Regions from separate parts of the Homo sapiens genome. Here region 2 is linked to region 1. The links are contacts of gene promoters, found by promoter capture Hi-C in human tissues and cell types (Jung and others, 2019). All regions are on one chromosome and are shown on one strand. The core of a region is centred on a gene start or on the middle of the fragment in contact, and the rest is flanking DNA. Distances in the headings are between cores, read along the strand shown. Region 1 holds the start of MFSD2A (MFSD2 lysolipid transporter A, lysophospholipid). Region 2 overlaps TRIT1 (tRNA isopentenyltransferase 1).

Evidence for each region. The method cuts DNA at HindIII sites, captures the fragments that hold promoters and counts their contacts. A contact is called where the count stands out against the background at its distance.
Region 2: a contact is called between a fragment that was not itself captured here and the fragment with the promoter of MFSD2A in region 1, in 5 of the 25 tissues and cell types used here (H1 embryonic stem cells, IMR-90 fibroblasts, hippocampus and 2 more).

The regions. Positions count from the first base shown.
Region 1 is chr1:39,952,067-39,957,328 of GRCh38, reverse strand. It overlaps MFSD2A (MFSD2 lysolipid transporter A, lysophospholipid), which reads right to left and starts at 2,184. Exons shown (of 14, transcript NM_032793.5): 1 at 1,944-2,184; 2 at 108-242. The coding sequence starts at 2,036. RefSeq lists a silencer at 2,233-2,362. The HindIII fragment of the contact is 9,041 bases long and covers 1-5,262 here.
Region 2 is chr1:39,874,057-39,879,318 of GRCh38, reverse strand. All of the region lies in intron 1 of TRIT1 (tRNA isopentenyltransferase 1), which reads left to right. Among named protein-coding and RNA genes, the nearest start is that of MYCL-AS1, 6.5 kb to the left of the region's middle. The HindIII fragment of the contact is 6,954 bases long and covers 1-5,262 here.

The sequences.
Region 1 (5,262 bases), core at 935-3,434:
GGGGTCCCATTTCACAGATGGGGAAAACTGAGCGAACTGACCCAGGGGTGCATAGTCTTTCCCACCTCAGGATGCTGAAGGAGCCCTCGAAGGCTTAGACCACTCACCTGAGCCACATCCAATAGGTAGATCTGAAGGAAGAAACCCAGGGCACAGCCCGTCACCTGGTAGGGGGCTCCCCCAAGTGCATAGCAAAGCTTGTTGCAAACAGACAACTGTTGTTTCTTCTTTTTCGGTTCTTTCTGGGAAGAGGAGGAAAAGATGAAAGGCCCAAGGTTCTGGCCTCCATCCAAGAAGGTTCCACAGGAAGGACCATCCCTCTGGCCAGCTCTACCAGAACAAACAACTCTGCTTTGACCTGTTCCTATCCAGGAGATCCCACCTTTTTTTTTTTTTTTTTTTTTTTTTTTTTTGAGACAGAGTCTTGCTCTGTTGCCCAGGCTGGAGTGCAGTGGTGCCATCTCGGCTCACTGCAAGCTCCGCCTCCTGGGTTCACGCCATTCTCCTGCCTCAGCCTCCCAAGTAGCTGGGACTACAGGCACCCACTACCACACCCAGCTAATTTTTTGTATTTTAAGTAGAGACGGGGTTTCACCATGTTAGCCAGCATGGTCTCGATCTCCGAGATCCCACTTTATACAAAAGAAAGGTGTTCTCCATTCTTAGGAACATGGAAAAGGGGAATCCATACTTGTGTGAAAGTAGCCCCTAAGCCACCTCCCTCCTGGAGATTCTAAGGAAACTTATCAGCCCACCATCCCTAAAGAACTCCTCCCAAGGCCTCAGGCACTGCTCCTTTCCAGGTTTCAGGGGGAGCATGCTCCAGCAGCCGACCTGTCCCCACCCGGCACCAGCTGCCACAACCTGAAAATCCGCTTGCTGCCAAGAGCTGCCTGAGCCCAGCCCAGGCTCCCACCCTGCCTCAGAGACAGGATCCACCTGCCTACTCCTGGTGAGAGCTCTAGAGAGCTACGGGGGCCCGGCCCAGCTGGCTGCAGGCGCAGCTGTTCCACCTATCCCAGAGCATCCCTGACCACTATAGGCAGCCAGAGCTTCAGGCGGACCCAGGAACTGTCCTACTCTCCAGCTTCCCGACCCATCGCCCTCCACCCCTGAGCTCCTAGAGGACCTTGGAGACGGGAGGAAAGGCCTCCAGGTTCAGGCCTGATCCCTCTCCGGGTGGGGCACTAGGGAGGTTGGGTTGCCCAGGGAAAGTAGATATTACTCATACATAGTAACAGCATAATTGCTCACCCAGCTCCTTCCAAAGATCAGTTAATAAAATTAAAAGGAAAAGGCAGTCACCTCCCACGAAGGTATCTATTGCCTGAGATCCTTTCCTAGGGGGCCGCCTCATTTTATTTGGTCCTTCAATAAGTCCCCAGGGCTGGGGATGTGGTCGATGGTCTCGATGCGCAAAGCACCGTTCCCGCGCGAACATCCACATTCAGACAAATGCCTGAGGGACGCGGCTCCTTTAAGAGCAGAGCTCTTGTTCTTATGAATGAACTTGAGCGGCCCTAACAGCAGAGTTGAGGCGCAAGAGTAGGTGGGTGGAGTGGGAGGTAGGGGATGAGAGATGGGGAACCAAGGGGAGTTTCCCAGATTTCTGGGGTCATCTCTGGGGTTTGGGGCGGCAAGCCCCAGCCGCTCAACACGGAAGAATGGAAACCGGCTAGGCAGAGCGGGGAATCACATGGGGCTGCCGGCAGAGCCTCTCCGCAGAGCGTGGAGTGCGGGTGAGCAAAGGGGGGCGAGGGCGCCCACAGCTTTTCTCCGTCACCCCCTGTCCCAGGGCACCCCCAGGTCCTCTCTGGCTCGTAGGCTTCCTGTCCCTGGCTATCCCAATGGTCCCCTGACCAGGCCGACCCCGGGACGCCCCTGATCCCCCATTTCCGCCTCCTCCCTCCCCTCGCCCTCCACGCGGGGTGCCGGGCCCTCACCTTCACCTGGGCCGGGCGTTCAGTGCTTTGGAGGATGCTGGTGGGTAGCAGCCCCGCCGCGGAGCCGCTCTCGGCGCCTTCTCCTTTGGCCATGACCCGCGGGCCACGCCGCTTGGGACCTGGTAGACGGGATGCTCCTCTGCCCCGCAGGCCGCTGCTCCTCCCAAGCTCGCTTCGTAGCAGCCTTAGCCACGGCCGCCGCGCGCTAGCCAAGCCGGCTGGCAGACGAGGAACGCACTCTGCTGCACGCCCCCTCCGCGCCTCTTATAGTTCTGCCCAGCCCTCTCGGTTGCGGCCAATCCCCGAGCCCCGCTGCCCCGCCTCCAGCCAATCCCGTCGCCCGCCTCCCTGCCCCCGCCTCGCCCGGCGGCTCTGTGCCACCGAGCCACGTTCTCCAAGCCCCGGAACCGGCATCTGCCTGCGCTGGCTCCTAGCAATCCGAGAAGCAGGCCGCGAGACCTCCCAGACACGCGCGAGGAAACCGAGGCCCCAGGCTGAAAGTGATCTGCCCGGGGTCCCCGATCTGCCCGAGGTCCCCGAGGTCCCCAAGGTCCGACTCTCCCCGAGTCGGGCCTACCACCCATGACTTCTGAGCCCCAGGCCTAGGAAAGGTAGGGGCTCTGAAGCCCACTTTAAAATCTGGAGTCAGGGCCTCTCTCCTTCTTCAAGCCTAGAGGACGTACGCTGACACTTTCCCTCCTGATGCCTCTCTCTCATCCCCGAAGACACACCATTCCCCCGTCCTGCCCTTGGCATCCGGGCAATGGGGAGAAAGATGAGGCAATCCAGTGGCTGCCCCTGCCAGAAGGGAGCTCCCAAGTCGTGGAGAGAAGCCGGGGCTACGCCCGCTAGTACACTATGACAACAGTGGCCTTTTTATGGATAGCTTCCTCCATGCTTAATATGATCTCTTTCGGCCCTCAAAAACCACCAAGTGAGGGTGGTACTATTATTATCCCCATTTTACAGCACAGGAAGGGGAAACTTGGAGAAGTGAAGCAACTGTTATGTAGCAGAGCCAGGCCTGAAAGGTTTTGTCCGATACCAAAGCAGTTGCTCTCAACAGCCCTGCTCTATCCCTCTTAGCATAAATTACAGACGGCAGAATGGGGTGTATGTGTCTCCCAACAAGAAGCCCTGGGAGATACATGGCTCCAGAGGCACTGAGGGTTGAAACAGGGAAAGTTTTGAAAAAGAGAATGCCCAGAAATGTGGTCCTCAAAAGAAGATGGGAGGGCATTAGTTTGGAACAGAAGGCAGGCACGGATGCCAGAAAAGAACAGTCTTTAGTTCCACCTCTGAGTCCCTTATGTCAATGTCACCCCGGTCTTTCCAGTTCTCTGATTAGTGAAGGGGCTGCTGGAACTCTCAAAGGCTACCCACCCGGTTCCTGTGCTCCTTAATGTCAGCCTCCTTCTTCCTTTCTTTAAATCTCTGATTGCAGGGAGGAGAGATAAGGTCTATCTGCCCCAGGATGGTCACACCATGCTCCCTCATACGCCAGCAGATCCCATCTGGGCACACAGCTCTTGGCCATTGCTGAGCAGAAGAGAGCCAAAGTGAGGCACTGAATACTGTGGAAAGGGAATGGCTGGCCCCATTACTCCAAGCTGTGTGACACTGTTCTGTCTCTTTTCCCCTCTCCAGGCTTGGTTAGCTAAGCTCCCTTGCAGCCCCCAAATCTTCTCTCCCACAGTCACACCATACCACAAGTGATCTGTATCCCCCGGTTGACAATGAGCTCCTCAGGTAGGAACCGCATCTTTTTCACTTCTGTGTCCCCACCAACTAGCTTAGGGCCTGAATTATTGTGTTCAGTGAATGAATGTTCAGTCTTCCCCTGCTAAGGTACAAGCACACAGAAACCCATTAGGAAAAGCCCTAAGTGTCTCCATTTACTAGCTGTGCGGCTGACTCTGAACAACTCAGTTAACCTCCCTGTGTAAAATGGTGATATTAATAGTAGCTACTGGCCAGGCACCCTGGCTCACGCCTGTAATCCCAGCACTTTGGGAGGCTGAGGTGGGTGGATCACGAAGTCAGGAGTTCCGGACCAGCCTGGCCAATATGGTGAAACCCTGTCTCAACTAAAAATACAAAAATAAGCCGGGTGTGGTGGGGCACACCTGTAGTCCCAGGTACTCAGGAGGCTGAGGCAGAAGAATCGCTTGAACCCAGGAGGCGGAGGTTGCAGTGAGCCGAGATCGTGCCACTGCACTCCAGCCTGGGTGACAGACAAAGACTCTTGTCTCAAAAAAAAAAAAAAATTAATAGTAGCTACCTAATAGATTTGTTTTGGGGATGAAACAAGAAAATGCACAGGAAGCATTTAGCACAAGTGCCTGGGAGCTGAAGCTGGGCTGGTCCCCCTCCTGGCCTGATTCCAGTCTGTCAGTGTAGCAACGCAAGATTCCAGATATGGCCTGACCAAGCCAGCACAATAGGCCTATTATTTTTTCCAGTCTGGATGCGACACATTGTTAATGCAGCCTAAGACTGCTGGGCTTCAGAGCCTTTCTCTCCCATGATTAGTTCCCATCAGGTTGTGGTCAACTAAATCATTCAGATCCTTTTCACCGGAGTTGGGGTCAAGTCAGGTCTCTCCCCGATCCTCTGCTTTCTGTAATGTCTTGAGGCTCACAACAGAACAATGTCATCTTGCTTATTCCAGCCTGTCGAAATTGTTGTGGATGCTGGTTCTATGGCTCACTGTTTTCTCTCACTCTAAATTTAGATCTGGCTGTCCCTTGCAACTTCAACTCCACCAGCCATGTTGTTGGTCAGGACAGAGCCCCATAACACAGCACTAGAGACACTCACTGTCACCACTAACTGAATCACGGCACCGCCAATACAACAGCTCCCAAATACCAAGCAGCCACTGGTATGCTGGGCAGCGTGCCCCATAAGTGCTTTAAATATACTATCTCATTTACTTCTGTTTTTTTTTCTTTATATCTCATTTAGTCCCAACAACACCACTGGAGAGAGTTGTTTTTATTACCCTCATTTTATTTATTTTTATTTTATTTTCTTAGAGATAGGGTCTTGCTCTCTCCTCCAGGCTGGAGTGCAGTGGCACACACGATCATAGCTCACTGCAGCCTTGAATTCCTCAGCTCAAGTGATATGATTAGGCTTTGTGTCCCCACCCAGATCTCATCTTGAATTATATCCTAATAATCCCCATACCCCCACAATCCCCACATGCCAAGGGAGAGACCAGGTGGAGGTGACTGAATCGTGGGAGTGGTTTCCTCCATGCTGTTCTCATGACAGTGAGTGAGTTGTTACAAGATCTGATGGTTATATAAGGGGC
Region 2 (5,262 bases), core at 1,529-4,028, 79 kb after region 1:
CCAGGGGCTGTGGGGTTCAATCAGTAGGGAGTTTTTTGTTTGTTTGTTTGTTTGTTTGTTTTAAGATGGAGTCTCGCTCTGTCACCCAGGCTCATGATCTTGGCTCACTGCAACCTCTGCCTCCCATGTTCAAGCGATTCTCCTGCCTCAGCCTCCCGAGTAGCTGGGACTATAAGCGTGTGCCACCACGCCTGGCTAATTTTTTGTATTTTTAATAGAGACGGGGTTTCACTGTGTTAGCTAGGATGGTCTCGATCTCTTGACCTCGGGATCCGCCAGCCTCGGCCTCCCAAAATGCTGAGATTACAGGCATGAGCCACTGCGCCAGGCCAGGAGTTTTTAACTTGTATGCCAGTTATCCTTCTTAGGAGTGTGCAACATTTTGATCAGGAAAAAGATGTATTTTAGGATTCATATTGTAAATCACAGTGTTAATTCATAGTGATATCTGTCAAGTGGAGTGTTGAGCTGACTGGAAGCCACCTGATGTACTTTGGGGATAAAATTTGCTGCAGCTAAGAGATATTAATAGAATCTAATGTCAAGTTCGTATCAAAGACAGATAGTGTTTATTGGAACAAAGGGTAAACTTGGACTTGTGGAGAGCCTAGACAGAACAGTAAACTTCTTTGTTGTAACACACCAAAGGGTGACCAAATAGAAAGTGTGATCATAGAAAGTTTTTTCAAGTTTCTAAATTGGGTTTTTTAAAACCAATATTTGCATTTTAATAATTCCTTTTGGTGTGCTGCTGAAAATTTTCTATTCAGAAGTGTACCAGTAACTCAGAAACTATTGTACAACACTATCTTAAATGTTAAATTGTCTCGTACTTCATACTGCTTTTGTCATCCCTTTGTCCTGCTTTAAAATGTAGGGTCATCCAAGGCAACACCTACCCAAGGTCAACCCTACAGCACCTACAGGGCAGTTCCTATCCAGAGAAAGTATTTGTTTTTGTAAACATTGAATAAGTACTTTAAGCTTTGAGGTAAAACTACAATGGGGTTGTTAAAGGTATTGTGTCTATGGTGATCATTTCTTCATGTAGCCTGATATGCAGTGACTTGCTTCTGTAGCCATCTAGCATCTGAAGGTACTGCCTGTCCTCTTTCTTCCCAGTGTTCTTTTTTCTTTTTCTTTTTTTTTCTATGACACAGCCCCAGGAGGTCCTGAAAACACATGCCCTTCCATGATTCTTATGCAAGGTAGTTGTGGATTGGGAAGTCAGAACTACTTTCTGAGGGGATTACCTTCTTTGGGATTTCTCTTGGGTTTTGCTGAGGATTTCTACATGGCCATTCTGACAGAAGTGAGAAACAACATTTGTGCTTTATTTTCTGAGTCTTCTGAATGCTGGTTGTTTCACAAATTATAGAAATAAAAATATTCTCATTCAGTAGTAAGAGTCTGAATTCAAGGAGGGACAGGTAATACAATCCCTGTTTTCCAGGATGGAAAAACTGGAGCTACAGAAGATTAAAGAGCTGTCTAGAGATCACACTGCAAGACACTGGGAATTGGATCTGGGTCTTCTAACTCATTTGTAGAGTCTGATGTATTTCAGGAAGATGATACCGAAGGTCTTCTTTTCAGTCTGAGTCTTTTTCTTGGCTTGTAAATTCAAGGTACAGTGCCGGGCCTTCAGTGACTGGATGAAACATTGTACTGAGAAAATTGAAGGCCCTTGCCAAACATGTACAATGATGGCCTGGAAATACAAACTACCAACTATATGCTAAGAGAAAAGAAACAAAGTGTTCTGTTCGGGTTTATAGAGAGGAAGTGTCTCTAATGCCTCAGTTTTTCAAGTCCTGTGGAGAAGCAGTAGCCGTACATAGGAGCACAGTTCCTTTTGTGTTTGTTTAAACCTACAAGAGGAGAAACAAATGATTTTTGGCAGTCTGACTAGTAAGCAAGCAGAATATGTGTCATCTCGTCATCCAATAGATGTGGAGCTCTTTGTTCTTTTTTTTTTTTTTTTTTTTTTAATAGAAGCACCATGTTGCCCAGGCTGATCTTGAACACTCTTGGCCCCAAGTGATCCTCCTGCATTGGCCTCCCAAAGTGCTAGGATTACAGGCATGAGCTACCCCACCTGGCCTCTGTATTCTTTTTGTTTGCTTTGGGACATACTGTAGGAGCAGTGTTTGTACCAAAAGACTGTCTGATCAAGGGAGATATGGGATGCTTGGGGGAGGGATATGAAAGGAGAGATGGGATGGTGGATCACAGTGGCTTAATAAAATGTGAAATAAAAGGCTTGAAGACCTGTTTTTTTTTTTTTTTTTTTTTTTTTGAAGACCCATTAACCAGGAGAAAAGGGGTCTATCTGGAAGGTATTTGCCACAACTGACAAAGGCAGTCCTTTTTTTTTTGTTTTTTTTTTTTGAGATGGAGTCTTGCTGTGTCACCCAGGCTGGAGTGCAGTGACTCCATCTCGGCCCACTGCAACCTAAGCCTCCCAAGTTCTAGCCATTCTCCTGCCTCAGCCTCCTGAGTAGCTGGGACTACAGGCGCCCGCCACCACGCCTGGCTAATTTTTTGTATTTTTAGTAGAGACAGGGTTTCACCGTGTTAGCCAGGATGGTCTCAATCTCCTGACCTCAGGTGATCCGCCAGCCTCGGCCTCTCAAAGTGCTGTGATTACAAGCGTGAGCCACTGCACCCAGCCAAAGGCAGTCTTTTAGAAGGACTGAGACTTACAAGAGGCTAAAAAGGAAATCTCAAAATTTTCGACTCATCATTCATATATATATATAGATAGATAGATAGATAGATAGATAGATACACATATAAATAATGAGTTTCTAGGTCCCTTGGTTCACCTCCATTGTAAGTGAATTTAGTTTTCTTTTGGCTGCAGTATTAAGCTGTGTATGTTGTACATATGTGGTCATGTTTTTGCACCTACAGGGAGAACTTTGGAGTCAAATCTGTGTTATATAAGGAAGGAGAAGTGACTACTGGCCAAACAGGAAACCATAGGAGAGCACAGATGAGGCTTGCAGATTCAGATTCATGAGGATGAGTGCTACCCTGATGTTTCAGTGCCTGAGGCAGGGTGTTGAAGCAGCTCCACTTCAAAAAGATATATTTGAGGAGTAAAAGTTACTTGGGGTATATAGGAATTCACATATGTGCTCCATTATGATTTAATGGAATTGGTTTTGTTTTTCTGTGTAGTTTTGGATTCCTCAGAAACTTGAATCAGACCAGGACCCTGTTGGCCTCTTGATCCCTTTGGGGCTCTGCTTGTGAGTAGCAGCCTCCCTGTACCTCCCTCATTGTGGCAGTCAGAGTTCAAGCCCTCATTACAGGAATGATCATAATAATTATACTACTGAAGATAATAGCAAGAATAATATATATGTCAGGCAGTTCTAAAAGTTTGACAAATATTATCTAATATCCTTACCGTAGCCTTTTGCCGTGGGTGCTGTTATTGTCTCCTCCCTACCAAAAATTACTTTATTAAATCCTCATCTCCATGCTGTTTTATACTTTTTCCTCTAACTCTTATTTATTTATTCATTCATCCTCCATCCCATTCTTTTCCTCTGTACCACTGTGTACATTTTATCAAGCAGAAAAGTGGGAAGAATAATATTACTGACAAAAGAACAGTATGGGCAAAGTTAAGAAAATGCATGGTATGTTTTCAAGGAATGACCAGCAACTATCTGGCATAGAGGGTACTTGAGGGACAGTGGTAGGAGGTAAAACTAAAAATATAGACCCTGGGAACAAATTTTTGAGGCCCTCAAAAGTCATGCCATGAGGTTTGAGGTTTTAAAGAGGGAAGTGGTAGTAAGTCTATTTTTTTTTTTCAAGACAGAGTCTCGCTCTGTCACCCAGGCTGGAGTGCAGTGGCGCAATCTCAGCTCACTGCAACCTCCACCTCCCGGGTTCAAGCAAGTCTCCTGCCTTAGCCTCCTGAGTAGCTGGGATTACAGACGCATGCCACCACGCCTGGCTAATTTTTGTATTTTTGGTAGAGACAGGGTTTCACCATGTTGGTCAGGCTGGTCTCGAACTCCTGACCTCGTGATCTGCCCACCTCGGGCTCCCAAAGGGTTGGAATTACAGGCGTGAGCCACTGCACCTGGCCTGTAAATCTATTTTATGAAGTAACTGGGTGGAGAGTGGGTTAGAGAAGGAAAAACAGTTTAGGATTCTGTTACATTAGTCTGGGTGAGAGAGGCTGGAGTTGGGCTTTGGCTGGAGAGAATAGGTAACCATTTTGATATTTTGTAAACAGAACCAACAGGATTTTGGTTATTGAATTGGAAGCACTATGAAAAAAATGAGAACAAAGCATTTTTGTGTTCAGAAAAATGAGACATGCGGGGGCCGGGCACAGTGGCTCACGCCTATAATTCCAGCACTTTGGGAGGCTGAGGCGGGCAGATCACCTGAGGTCAGGAGCTCGAGACCAGCCTGACCAACATGGAGAAACCCTATCTCCACTAAAAATACAAAAAAATTAGTCAAGCATGGTGGTGCATGCCTGTAATCTCAGCTACTCAGGAGACTAAGGCAGGAGAATCACTTGAACCCAGGAGGCGGAGGTTGCAGTGAGCCGAGATCACGCCATTGCACTCCAGCCTGGGCAACAAGAGCGAAACTCCATCTCAAAAAAAAAAAGAAAAGAAAAATGAGACATGCTTATTAAAAAAATCCAATAATACTGAAAAGTACAGAGACAATTTAACCATAGTCTTAGCATCCTGGAGTAATGATTTTGGTTCACATCCTTCCAGACATTTGTATATATATTTAAGCACATGTGTCATGTGTGTATATGTTATTACATAAATTGACTCAGAGGTTAGATACTATTCTATTTTCTTTTAACACTATGTTATGGATATCTTTATATGTTAATGTATATAGCTATATCAGTAGTCTCAACTTGGGGTGATTTGGCCTCCTAGGGGACGTTTGGCAATCCCTGGAGACATTTTTGGTTCTAATAACTGGGGAGGTGGGTTCCTGGCATCTAATGGGTAGAGGCCAGAGACATTGCTAACATTCTAGTAGGCACAGGACAACTTCCCATAACAGAATTATTTGGCCCCAAATATTAATTGTACTAAAGTTAAGAAACTGTCCTATATTATTGTTTTTATAATTTTTTATTGATTGATTGATTGAGACACGGTCTTACTGTGTTACCCAGGCTGGTTTCAAACTCCTGGGCTCAAGCAGTCGTCCCACTTCACCTTCCAAGTAGCTGAGATTACAGGTTTAATTTTGATT